Regions from separate parts of the Homo sapiens genome. Here region 2 is linked to region 1. The links are contacts of gene promoters, found by promoter capture Hi-C in human tissues and cell types (Jung and others, 2019). All regions are on one chromosome and are shown on one strand. Each heading gives the region's core, a stretch centred on a gene start or on the middle of the fragment in contact. The rest is flanking DNA. Distances are from core to core; before and after follow the strand shown.

Evidence for each region. The method cuts DNA at HindIII sites, captures the fragments that hold promoters and counts their contacts. A contact is called where the count stands out against the background at its distance.
Region 2: a fragment that was not itself captured here is called in contact with the fragment with the promoter of LRRC9 in region 1 in 1 of the 25 tissues and cell types used here (hippocampus).

Annotation. Positions count from the first base shown.
Region 1 is chr14:59,916,496-59,922,374 of GRCh38, reverse strand. LRRC9 (leucine rich repeat containing 9) reads right to left here and starts at 2,231. Exons shown (of 33, transcript NM_001395648.1): 1 at 2,102-2,231. RefSeq lists an enhancer at 1,872-3,071. The HindIII fragment of the contact is 18,773 bases long and covers 1-5,879 here.
Region 2 is chr14:59,120,686-59,126,564 of GRCh38, reverse strand. No RefSeq gene overlaps it. Among named protein-coding and RNA genes, the nearest start is that of DAAM1, 65 kb to the left of the region's middle. The HindIII fragment of the contact is 5,527 bases long and covers 1-4,946 here.

The DNA.
Region 1 (5,879 bases), core at 982-3,481:
CAACACATCACTACCTGCTTTCAGTCCTGGATTCACTGCCATCTGGACTGAGAACACCTCAAGCCACTACAAGGTCAAAAATAACCTTCTAATGGCCAAAGACAGCGGACATGTTTTGATTCTCAACTTGACCTTGACATGGCATTTGACAATGCTGACGACTCTCTTCTTCACGTTTTCTTCTTTGGTTCAACTTTTCTCCTTGGCTTCTCTCTACTTGTTATTTCAAACTTACTTTGTGCTTTTCTTCTTTTCTTTTTTCTTTCTTATTTATTTATTTATTTTTTTTTTGAGACAGAATCTCACTTTGCTGCCCAGGCTTGACTGCAGTGGCACAATCTGGGCTCACTCCAACCTCTGCCTCCCAGGTTCAAGTAATTCTTCTGCCTCAGCCTCCCAAGTAGCTGGCACTACAGGCGCGTGCCATCACACCCGGCTAATTTTTGTATTTTTAGTAGAGACAGGGTTTCACCATATTGGCCAGGCTAATCTCGAACTCCTGACCTTGTGATCCACCCGCCTCGGCTTCCCAAAGTGCTGGGATTACAGGCATGAGCCACCGTGCCTGGCCTACTTTGTGCTTTTCAAACCAATTGTTTTCTTCATGGTGAAAAATCCTTATCTTCTTTTCTGTGCAAAAAAAAAAAAAAAAAAAAATCCAACTGCCCACATGAAAAAGCTCCATCTGAATGTGCCACAGGCATCTCAAATTCAGTGTGTTCAAAATTGAACTCATTATATTTTCCAACCAGCCTCCTTCTCCTAATGTATGCCTTCTCTTGAAAAGTAACACCACCATTCTTCTATTGGTTGAGCTATTATCCTCAACCAATCTTTGACTCTATCCCCCTATTTTCATTCACTCATTAAATCCTTCTGCATATACCTCTTAAAGGTCTTACCACATTTTTTTTCCTCCTCCTCATTCCAATTGCCTCTGCCTTGGTTCAGGCCCTCATCACCTCCCCTTAACTTGATGTCCTCCCTGTAGTCTGTCTTCCCTCAAGTTCATCCTCTACACTACTGTGACAGCCTCCTGAAAGGTAAATCTGCTCATGCTTTACCCCTTTGGAAGGTATTAATGGTTTCCATGCTCTGACTCCTGCCTACCTCACATGCTCATCAGCCACAACCTCCACAGAGGACCCTAGGTTCAGGCCACAACTATAGTTCTCTGGAACTGAATGGATGTTTCTGTACTTTGGCATGGGCTGTTTCCTCTCCCTAAAATGTCCTTTTCCCTTGGCTGTATGGCATACTCCATACTTCCCTAAAGATTTAAATCAAAGATCTTCTCTTTGAAGACTTTCATTCTCTCTGGTAGTATTATAAGCATTCTCTTTCTTGTGATTCTGGTTAGGGCTTGCACATACTCTTTGTATAGCACTTGTCACACTGTAAAACAATGTTTACGGGCCTTTCTTCCCTACTAGGTTACATGTTCATTGAAGGCAGAAACTGTGAACCTATCACAGGTTCACTGTCTGGCACATGCTAGTTGTTAAAAAAATTGTTTAATGGGTTAATTGTCATGCCACAGGCATATGGTATAATTTAAAGACATAATCGTTCTCCATGACCAGAGTATAATGATAGAGTAAAAAGGACCATGGTTTCTGTCTGCCGTGAGAGTTGGTTAGGATGTCATTCTGAGAAAACTTTTTTTTTCTCTGCCCAGTAGAAGTCCTGTATGGGTCAAATTATTTCCTCCTTTGGGTATAAAAGGATCAGAATCCATCAGTTACCACTGATGGTCCAAATAAACCCCCTACACTCTCTAGATGAGCAGTGTCAGGTTTGGTTAGGGAGCACTTGGTTTTTCCAGCCCAGAATCTTAATTGGTGCAGTAAAATCTGCATAGTTGGCTGTAGGCCACCCTCCCTTTCCTTCTCTTGAACTTTGTTCTGGTACCCTGACTGCCTCAGTAAAGCCACCTCACTGTCTTTCATCATTATCATCACCATTGCACCATTACGGAGTTCCCTTGACCTCAACTTTGCTTCACTGGCGTCTTCCCCTTGGTATGGCTTGGAAGGAAAAAGAGGGGATCAAAGACTCCCGGTGATGTACGCCCGAAGGCCACCAGGTGACGGATTCTGACCTTATCACAGAGAGAGGGTGGATTCCGGGGCAATCCGATTCAAGTCCGAGTCCACTCCGATTTCCCAATCCCTGTCTTGCAGCAGAAGGTAGGAAACCCTCTCCCGCCCCAGGCCTGGTGTGTACAGACTGCCTGTGGCGGTTGCCTAGGTAACCTGATCTCCGCCTCCGGCGACCTCCGGGTGGGGAGGAGGAGAAAAGGGGCGGGGAGGGGGATAAAAGGGTGGGGGGGAAGCGGAGGCCGACCCGGGTTTGCATCACGTGGTGGCGACCTCCAACCAATCAGCGGAAGCAGGGGTCCAACCGGAAGACCCCACCTGGGGCTCCTGGGAAACGGCGGGAGCTTCTCGCTGGCAGGTTTTTCTGTACCTGCGCTTATCTTTTCACTTACCTTCGCCAGTTCGCGGAACGTGACTGAAAGCAACGCGTTATGGGCAAGGTGGTGGGGACTTATTCGTTACCTCCTCCAGTCTCGCTCTCTCCCATTCATTATCTTTAGCTCTCGGGTCCTGGAAGCGCGGAGCCTCTCTGGCCTTGAGCCCCGAGGGCATGGCCCTGTGATGTCACAAGGTGGCGTGACAGCCGGGACGAACCCCGACCCCCAGCGCGGCATCCTTCCCGCGGCCAGCGACCACCGCCTCCCGGGAAGGTGGCTGACCACAGCCGCAAGCCGCTGCGCGCCCGGCAAGCCGAATGGAAGGACGGCGCGGGCAAACGAACGCCCAGTGAGGTCCAGAGAAGAGAGGGACCTTCCGAGGGTCTTCTAGTCGATCTCGGACAGGCTTTTGAGTGCCTTTTAAGCATTCCAAAATTTTCAGGAGACAACAGTAATTTACAAAATAGAGTAGAATTAAAAGGGGGGAAAGGGGAGACTTTTCAGAGTGGGCAGAGAGGCTGAGAAATGAACTTAGTAAAAGGCAAACCAAAGCAACCGCAGGTCTCGTGTCGTTCTCTGGATCTGCGCAGTCCAGCAGGGTGAGCCGCTACCCACAGACTCGCAGGGCCCATGATCGCTTGAAATGTGGCTTGTCCAAATTGACATGTGCTGTAAGGTACGCATTGTATTTTGAAGGCTTAGTATGAAAAAAATAAACTCTTTCGTTATTAATCTTCATATTGATTAAATGTTGAAATAATATTTTTGATACATTGGGTTAAATAAAAAATATTGTTAAAATTATTGTTTCTATTTTGAAAATGCGGCTGTTAGATAAATTTTAAATTGCATGTATGACTTGAATTATGTTTCTTTTGGACTGTGCTCTCTTTTATGTGGTTCAGTCGGTTTGTGTAGAATAGTTGTGATGTTAATGCAAAATATTGTCTGTAGTGCTTCTTTCTGTCACCAGATGGCCACCTCATTAAATAGACTATAGTTTTGAACTGCTTTCCCAAGAAAAAGTTCAGATTTTAGGAATATTCTCATTTAACAATTGTCAACAATTTCAGCATATTTGCCTTTATTCAATTAACTTTATCTGTAATATAGACCGTTTGTAAAGATACATAAACAAAAATTAACTGGTTTTCCCTCTACATTCTTATTTCACAGAAAATTGTTTCTATCTGTCATTAATAGATAATTCGAAATAAGCTAATTAAAGTTATTTGTGGCTTAGGGGTTTCAAACTAATGCCAGAAAAGTCAGATTCATAGTTTTTACTTTTACTATTATCTTCTCTGAAATGTAGTTGAACAAGGTGACCTGTCTTTGGGGAAGTTTTCTTCATAGAGTATAAAGATGAATTAGAACATAATAGTTGAGATTTCTACACTTCTAGACATAGAAATTTGAACAGAAACCAGTTCAGCGAATTATCTACACTAAGTTTCTTAATTTGAGGGGTCCAGCTCTGGGATGAAAGTATAAACATTATCAAAGTATATTTTTAGGAATCTATTGGGATTTTCCTGACCAGTGAAAGACTAGGAGAGAGCTAACAGTTTTCTTTACATGATATAAACAAATAATTTTAAGATTGTTATTATTCTAGGTAAAGCTCAAGGATCTGGCCAGTCAGCAACTGAGTCTGAGTTCTTGCATAGCTGTAGACTTAAGAACTATTGGTGACTTGCCAAAATAAAGCCTTTGTCCACAGGGTAAGTCTTAAGAGAATCACCTTCTGTTCACATATTCGAAATGTTGTTTGAAGCAAAAGATGCTTACAGTTAAAAGCCATAGAAGCAATGCAAAAAGAGTGATCATTTTTGTTAATCTCCTTTTCTCACTTTAAAGTAGCTTTATTATAAGGTTTTATGTCTGAACAAAAAACGCTGGAAATTGAAACTACTGAAGAGTCAAGCAAATTAAGTAATCATCTAATTGAAATAAGACTTCACTTTATTCACCTCTGATCATACTAGACAAAGGCCAAGCCATATTAATTTAAATCTATTTATTTATGGGTAAAGGCATCTTGAATCTGAAAACAACTGGAAAGAGATATTACCACTAATTATAGCAAATTTGCTATATCATATCCTGAATTAAAGAATCACTTATTTTAACAAAATAGAGGTGACTTTGCAGACCCAAATAAGAAAATCTTGAATTACATAGTTATTTGTTAATTAGAACCTTTTAAATAGATTGTTAAATTTATTTTTCAAAGCAGCCCTATCCTTATTGGTAGAGAACTGTGGAGACATCTAATTTCAATTCTCCCTTTTAATAGTGCCTTTACTTCCAGAGAACCAAGTCTGGAGGTTTTAAATGCTAATTCGATTTTTATATTTGTGTAGACATTTGATCCTTATGTAAATGAGTCCTTTCCAGCTAATGATTTTATCTGTAAAAATTTACTGTTTCACATTTAAATTTGATATATCATAAAAATCACAAATGCATCACTACTTAGGGTTTACTTTGTCACTGGAAGATATAATTATGTGGTGCTTATAAAGTCATCAACAGAGGCCCTCTTGTTATTGATGCCTAGCAACACATGTGTATTAAGATCCATTTAAAAGTTAGGGATTATTCTGAAGTAAAGTTTTAATTAGACCAACAGAACGCTATTTCTAATGGGTCTACCTAAAAATGCTAAATAGCCTTTGTTCATGATTTGTTGATATATAATTAATGGATAAGCTTTTCTTAAAAGGCAGCCAGAATGGAATTTTAAGAAGACATTGCCTCTGTTTCAGATATATTTGTACTTAGCTCTAAGGCAACAAATTGAGGATAGTGAATTTAAGTGGGGGTAGTAGTCTTAATTCCTTGGAGAGCTCACCAGTTCTTTGTGTCGGAGAAGTCTTTCCTCTCTTCCTCTTTTATTTTCTGTCCTTTAGACCTTAGGCTTATAACGTTGATTATATTTCTCAGGTTGAAGCACATCATCATCATTGGTCTATACAAAAGCCTTCTCTTATTTTTTCTCCAGTTTTTTTTATCCAGCCCCCACCCTTATCCCAACCATATTTAATGTTTCTTATACACTTTTAGTTATGTATTTATCTTTGAAAAACAGGCAGTGTTATTTGTGTGTCTATTTTTAATTTTCATAAGTGGTATCACGCTATAAATTTTATTCTGATCCTTTTTTATTCCATGCTATTTTAAGATCTATCCACATTTTTATATGTTCATCTAGTTCATAGATTCCTATTGTCAGCTATGAGAGCTAGCTGGGGTGCCAGTAGGAATATAGCACATTTTCCATTGTGTACTCTAGGTCCCTGTCTCTGTTGCTGGAGGTGAAGGGTAGAGCTAAATGGAGGGAATAAATGGAAGCAGAATGCCACAGGACTGATTACCTCTAGATGGCTCTAGAAAGTGA
Region 2 (5,879 bases), core at 934-3,433, 800 kb after region 1:
TAGTAGAGACAGGGTCTCACCATGTTGGCCAGGCTGGTCAACTCCTGACCTCAGGTGATCTGCCCACCTCAGCCTCCCAAAGTGCTGGGATTACAGATCTTTGCTTTTATATTTCATCTCTGAAATACTCTCCTGAGAATGAGGCTGGAGAGAGTAAATTTTAATTTTCCTAATCTTTCTTGCTCATTCCCCAATCCAAACCCTACGGCAACTGCTCATAAACGTAGGTCAGTGCTAAAGAATTAGTTCTATTGATTTTTTTCACCACTTGATCCATGTTAGGAAACAAAATTAGCTGGGTGTGGTGGCACACGCTTGTAATCCCAGCTACTTGGAGGCTGAGACAGGAGAATCATTTAGAACTCGGGAGATGGAGGTTGCAGTGAGCTGAGATCTTGCCACTGCACGAACAATTGCTTGGGTGACAAAGGGAGACTCCGTCTCCAAAAAAAAAAAAAAAAAAAAAAAAAAAAAGACATTGGAATAAACAAAACAAGATTGATCAGGATTAATGTTTTTTCAAGGTAATGTTCCAGGTAATGCTATAACCACTGGGGATTATGTTCCTATCCAAATATGCACCTTTGTCTTTGACTAGGCTATTTTATAATTTTGTAGGGATCAAAGTTAACTTGTACAAAACTGATAGCAATGCAAATATGCCCATAGGCATATAAATAAATTCTGTCCAGTGGAAAGTTAATTGACTCCTCCCTGTCCACACACACAAAAGCACCAATTTTGTTTCCATTTGCAAATCCATTTCACTCTTCCTGATCTATAAATGTCTCTGCTTTTTGGCTTTCTCTGAACCTGTTGTTAATGAAGTCTTATTCTCTCAATCACCATGCAATTGAGCTATGGGATTTCATGTTGAGTTATTAGCTTCTACTATTATTTTACCTGTTACCTCATTTAATTAATGAGTTAAATGAAAGTTTGACATAAGCATGTTTTATATTTGCATGAGAATCATGATTGTTCCTCCTCCCATCCCCAAAGATCCTTCAACACCCAATATTAAGTAACAAGCTGAAGGAGAAGTCTGGGGGACTTTTCTTACTTGGTTTTTATGGGAGTTACATCATTGGTAATCCGAAGTTTTGTTCCCTTGCCCTCCCTGAAGTAAAGGGTGCAACTGAGAGTGACTGAGACTACCCACCTTCCCACGTGGTCTTCCCGTGTGATCACTCACTTGGTGAACCTGTGTTTGTGCAAAGCATTTCTGAAACTCCTCTGCTGAAAGTACCTACAAAATCTGCTGCAGAGTCTTCAGATTTGCAGCATTGTGTGAATTTCACTAGACATCAGGCTTTGGTATTGGTCAGCCCTACTTCAAATTCTAGCTCTCCATGCACTAGGTGGAAGTTATCAGATGTTTCTGTTTACTCATCTGTAAAATAGAGCCGTTATAGAGTGAATGAAACAATGCGTATTATAGCTGGCATGTAATATGTTCTCCATAAATCTTACCTATTATTGCTACGTAGAGAGAAAAACATGGGACCTCCTTTCTTCCTTGGTCCTGCTGACGTGTAGCTCTGCAGTAACATCTCTGGTGCTGATGTTTCAGGCCAGATTGACATAGACAGGACTACACCCATTTAGGCCTGTGTAGGGCCTGAAGGATCTAGGTGTCTGGGTGGATTGGATCAGGAAATTTCCTGGAGTGAGTAGACCCGGATTTGACCTTTCAATTTCTTGATTGTGGGAAAGTCAAGGCATGGTGAGTGGCAGACGGTAGCTAAGGGCAGTGGCCACGTAACAACTGCTATGGAAATTTTACAAATTTAATAATTGGTATGGCACTGCTGAGTAAAACAAAGCCCTGGGAGAGGGTAGGTGAGCTGAATTGGGAGCAAGGGGACATCTTTCCAGACACCCTTAAAGTGGATGCAAAGATGGCTATAGACAGCCAGGTCACCAAGCAAAGAACTTCTTTGCCCTCCTTCTGATGGGTTTTGTCTGATGGAAACAGCTAATATGGAGAATTTTTTCAGTTGTGGGCTCTACCATCCCACCCTTCTAATACAGATTTCAACTGCTGGTAGATTTTACTATTGAACCAGGACAGAAACAAAAAGGAAGCTTAAATATCACAGCAGCCAATGACACCGCTGTTCCTTTGAGACACCTCAAAGGTGTCAGTTATACAAACTACGTTTATTCACTCCTTTTCCCTCAACAAATAATTTCCATATAATACGAAGAAGTGACTCTGAAATTTGCATTTTAGGCAGAAAAAGGAAATCTGATACCAGTGAACCAATGTAAACGAATTTTTATTTAAAGAGGCTATAAAAGAACATTCTGGATATTATGTGTATCATTATTTTGGTTACTTTGCAGTGTTATTGACGTTTAACTTCAAATATCCAGTAGAGGGCATGAAAGGAATTGGTTTTGTTTGGGCTCACTATGCTGAAGATAGAATTTGAACACTGGAAATGAAAAAGCAAATGGATTATATATTGCAGCTTTCAGACAGGGAATGACAAGCTTTAGATATCAACCCAATATATACTGCAACCTTTCTTTTTTCTTATATCGTATCTTATATCCTTCATTTAAAATTACTTAATCCTTGAGAATTAGATTTAGCTATTGAACAAAATACATATGAAATCATTAAATATCACTGATTTGTATTCACATCTATTAGAGACAAACCTGAAGAATATACCAAACTTTAGTACATGATGACATAGTATCCATGAAAAGCAAAGTTCTACCCTCTGGCGGAAACCCTTCACCTTTAGAATGCAAGACTGCTCTCAGCATCCCCTTCCTGCTTCAGATCTCAAATCAGGCGCTGGAAGCAGGACAAGAACCTTTCACAATCAGCCTTGGTGCCAAGCTTGACTCAGGATTGACTTAGCAATTGTTGCTTTCTCACTCATTTGTGACTTTGGTGGAAAAACAGAAGAAAAGCGCATACCTCCACTACATTTAATGAGTGCCTACAGTGTGCTAGATACTATATTAGATACTTGAAAAATAATTTTAATCTTTATAAGACCCCTACAAAGCCAAATTTATTATTCCCATTTTTCTGAGGCTCACAGAGGTTGCAAATTTCATGGCATTTCCCTGCATGCTGGTCTGCTCTATTTCTCATAAAATCTTTGGGAAGTAAGAAATAAATCTTTATGAAAAGATTGGGATCTAGAATTCTTAATTTAAATAATAAAATAACAAACCAGGTCACTTCTATATCTATATATTTTGGATATTATCTTCCCCTGTATTTTTCATAATCCAGTCCCACATTTGGTTGATAATAATGTGTGTTTCTATTTTTGTTGTTGTTTAAATTTCTCTTTCTGATTAGCTTCTATAGTAGCTCTTCAAATTAACTGGCACCCCTACATTTTGTAAAACTATAAATCTGCTCTAGAGTGGCCACCTTGTCACTGCTCTTATATCGTTCTTTTTATAGATTTTATTCTTTCCTAGTGTTCTTCAGATGAGTTTTAAGGACCACCAGCATTTAAAATATTTTCAAGAGTTTGTTTAAAATAGAAATTATTGGGCCTCAACAAAGATCATTTGAACTAGAATCTTCTGGGCTGAAGCTTAAGAATCTGCGTCTTCACCTACTCCTCAGGTATCTCCCATACACATGAGATTGATGCGCTGGCTTAGAAAATGAGAATGACTGAGTTCAGGCAGCACTCAGTAAACCTTAGTTGTCAATGACTACGACTTAGGTTTCAGGCCACTTCAATTTCCATGTGTTATTTGTTGGCTACCATGCCAACCACACAGGTTAGTAGAAAAAGCATGGCTTTAGGAAGCAAATGTACCTAGATGTTGATCATTTAGCTTCAGTTTCCAACACTTGTAAAATAATGTCTAATTTGCAGTAATTTTTTAACATAAAATGTAATAATACAGATCAATCACAAAACTAGCACAGTATCTGGTCCATATTGGAGTCTCAAATAATGATAGGTTCTAATAAGCATGATACCCCATTAATTAAATACAATATTATTGCTTGGCATTTGAGAGAATAAGCCTCCATTTATAAAGTGAGATGTTTACTGGGAAAGCTTGTTATTATTTGCATTAAATTTAAATTCTAAAGAAAGACCATAATTAAGTATATCTTCTGGAAACAGTTTTCCCAGTAAAGTGATATATAAGTATAATTTGCCTCTTTTGTATATATACAGGTTGCCAGATTTTGGGAGATAATTCTTAAAGGATCTCTCACATTGCGGCATGTTTTGTGAGCAAAGTATTGGTTGCCATTTGTTCTGGACTGTCTCTTCAAGGATGTTTGTATAGCAAACAGCCTTGGCACATAGAATGTCTTCCCCTAGAGCAGGCATGCTTATTGCCCATTGGAAAAGATTCAGATTCCCTAAACTCAAGAATTCCTATCCTAAAATGCAACCGTGTTCAGGCTTCCTTCTGGGTACATGTGTGTCACTCCTGTACAGCTCAGGAGCAAGAGGTGCTGATTCAAATATGCTGACTCTCATGCTGCTTGCTCTGTTTGCCTCTGACCCAGGAATCTCATGTTTTTTGTCAGCATCCATGACATTGTGGCTGACCAGCTTATTAGATTTCAAGTTGGGAAAATTCTCAGACCCATTCATCGTCCTTGACACTATGTAAAAGTACCTTTAGCACAGGTTTAATACTTTTTGTTTTCCTAGCCTCAGTACTTGTGTGGTGAAATCCACAATGACACCTGAAGAAGGAGGTGACTTGACTCGGATTACAGAGCAAGTTCCAAGCTGAGTCTAACTCCTGGACTCATGCTTCCAGCTTTCTGCTCTTTTCTCCAGGCGTTGATACTTTGTTAAACATCCAAGGCAAAGAATATGCAGAGAGAATATGAGTTTATCAAGATAGGTAGACATTCTATCATGGAAAAAGAATGTTTTCTATTGAGTTATTGGGACTTGGGCAAAGCCATCCTTGGCTAATTCTTTTGCTAGCTTTTCCATGAAACAATTGATGGACTGTGCTTCTTCGGTGGTATTTTCATAGAAAATTCAAGTTCATGAACTGCCCAATGATATACAGCACCAAAGTTATATGATGAAAAGCAGAGTTACCAACATTGCCAACAAGCCTTGCGATGAATGGATGTGCTGAGCTAGTACATAAGGAAGGAATTCTGGGTCCCATTGGAATCAGCAGTGATGGAATTCACAGGTACTTAGTGCATGGATGGTGGGAGAGAGGACAGGTTATGTTTGGGGTGGATGGTGCTGAAGGCCACCTAAAATTAGGAGGTAAATACAAGAAATAATTTCACTCAAAATACCATTTCCTTATAAGCTGTTCAGTGCATTTTGGTCCACAAAAGAAAAAGTTAAAATCTTGGAAGTGAAAACAGCTGGAGATCATCAAGCAATCACCAAGAGTTTGCAGAGCACGGCAGCAAGAGTTTGGGACAGATTTTTGAAAACAGAGAACTCTTGATTTAAAGACTGTCAGGGAACTTGGCTGTGTTTTGGACATTGCCTCTACATAGGTCTTAGAGTTCCAGTCAATAAAATAAATGCATATGCTTTACTTAAGCTGAGAATATTCCTGTGCCAGTAACATTCTCTGGAAGGACAAGAAGAGTCCTTCTTTAGTTTAGTATAGTTAGTTCATCAGGCAGCTAGAGGCTCCAGACTGAACAGACATGGAGAGTACAAACGGTGCAAAGTGTCTCTGTCCTTGAATAGCTTACAGTTCAGTAAAGGGAACAGATATGTAAGTACATAATCACAGTAGAGTGAGATATGTGCAATAATAAATATATTTATAAGATGCAGAAGTAGATAATAAGGAGCATTAATTCTACCTTGTAGTAAAGAGTAAAGAAAAGCTTCACAAAACAGGGGACATCTATGTTGGTTTTCTTGCTTTCC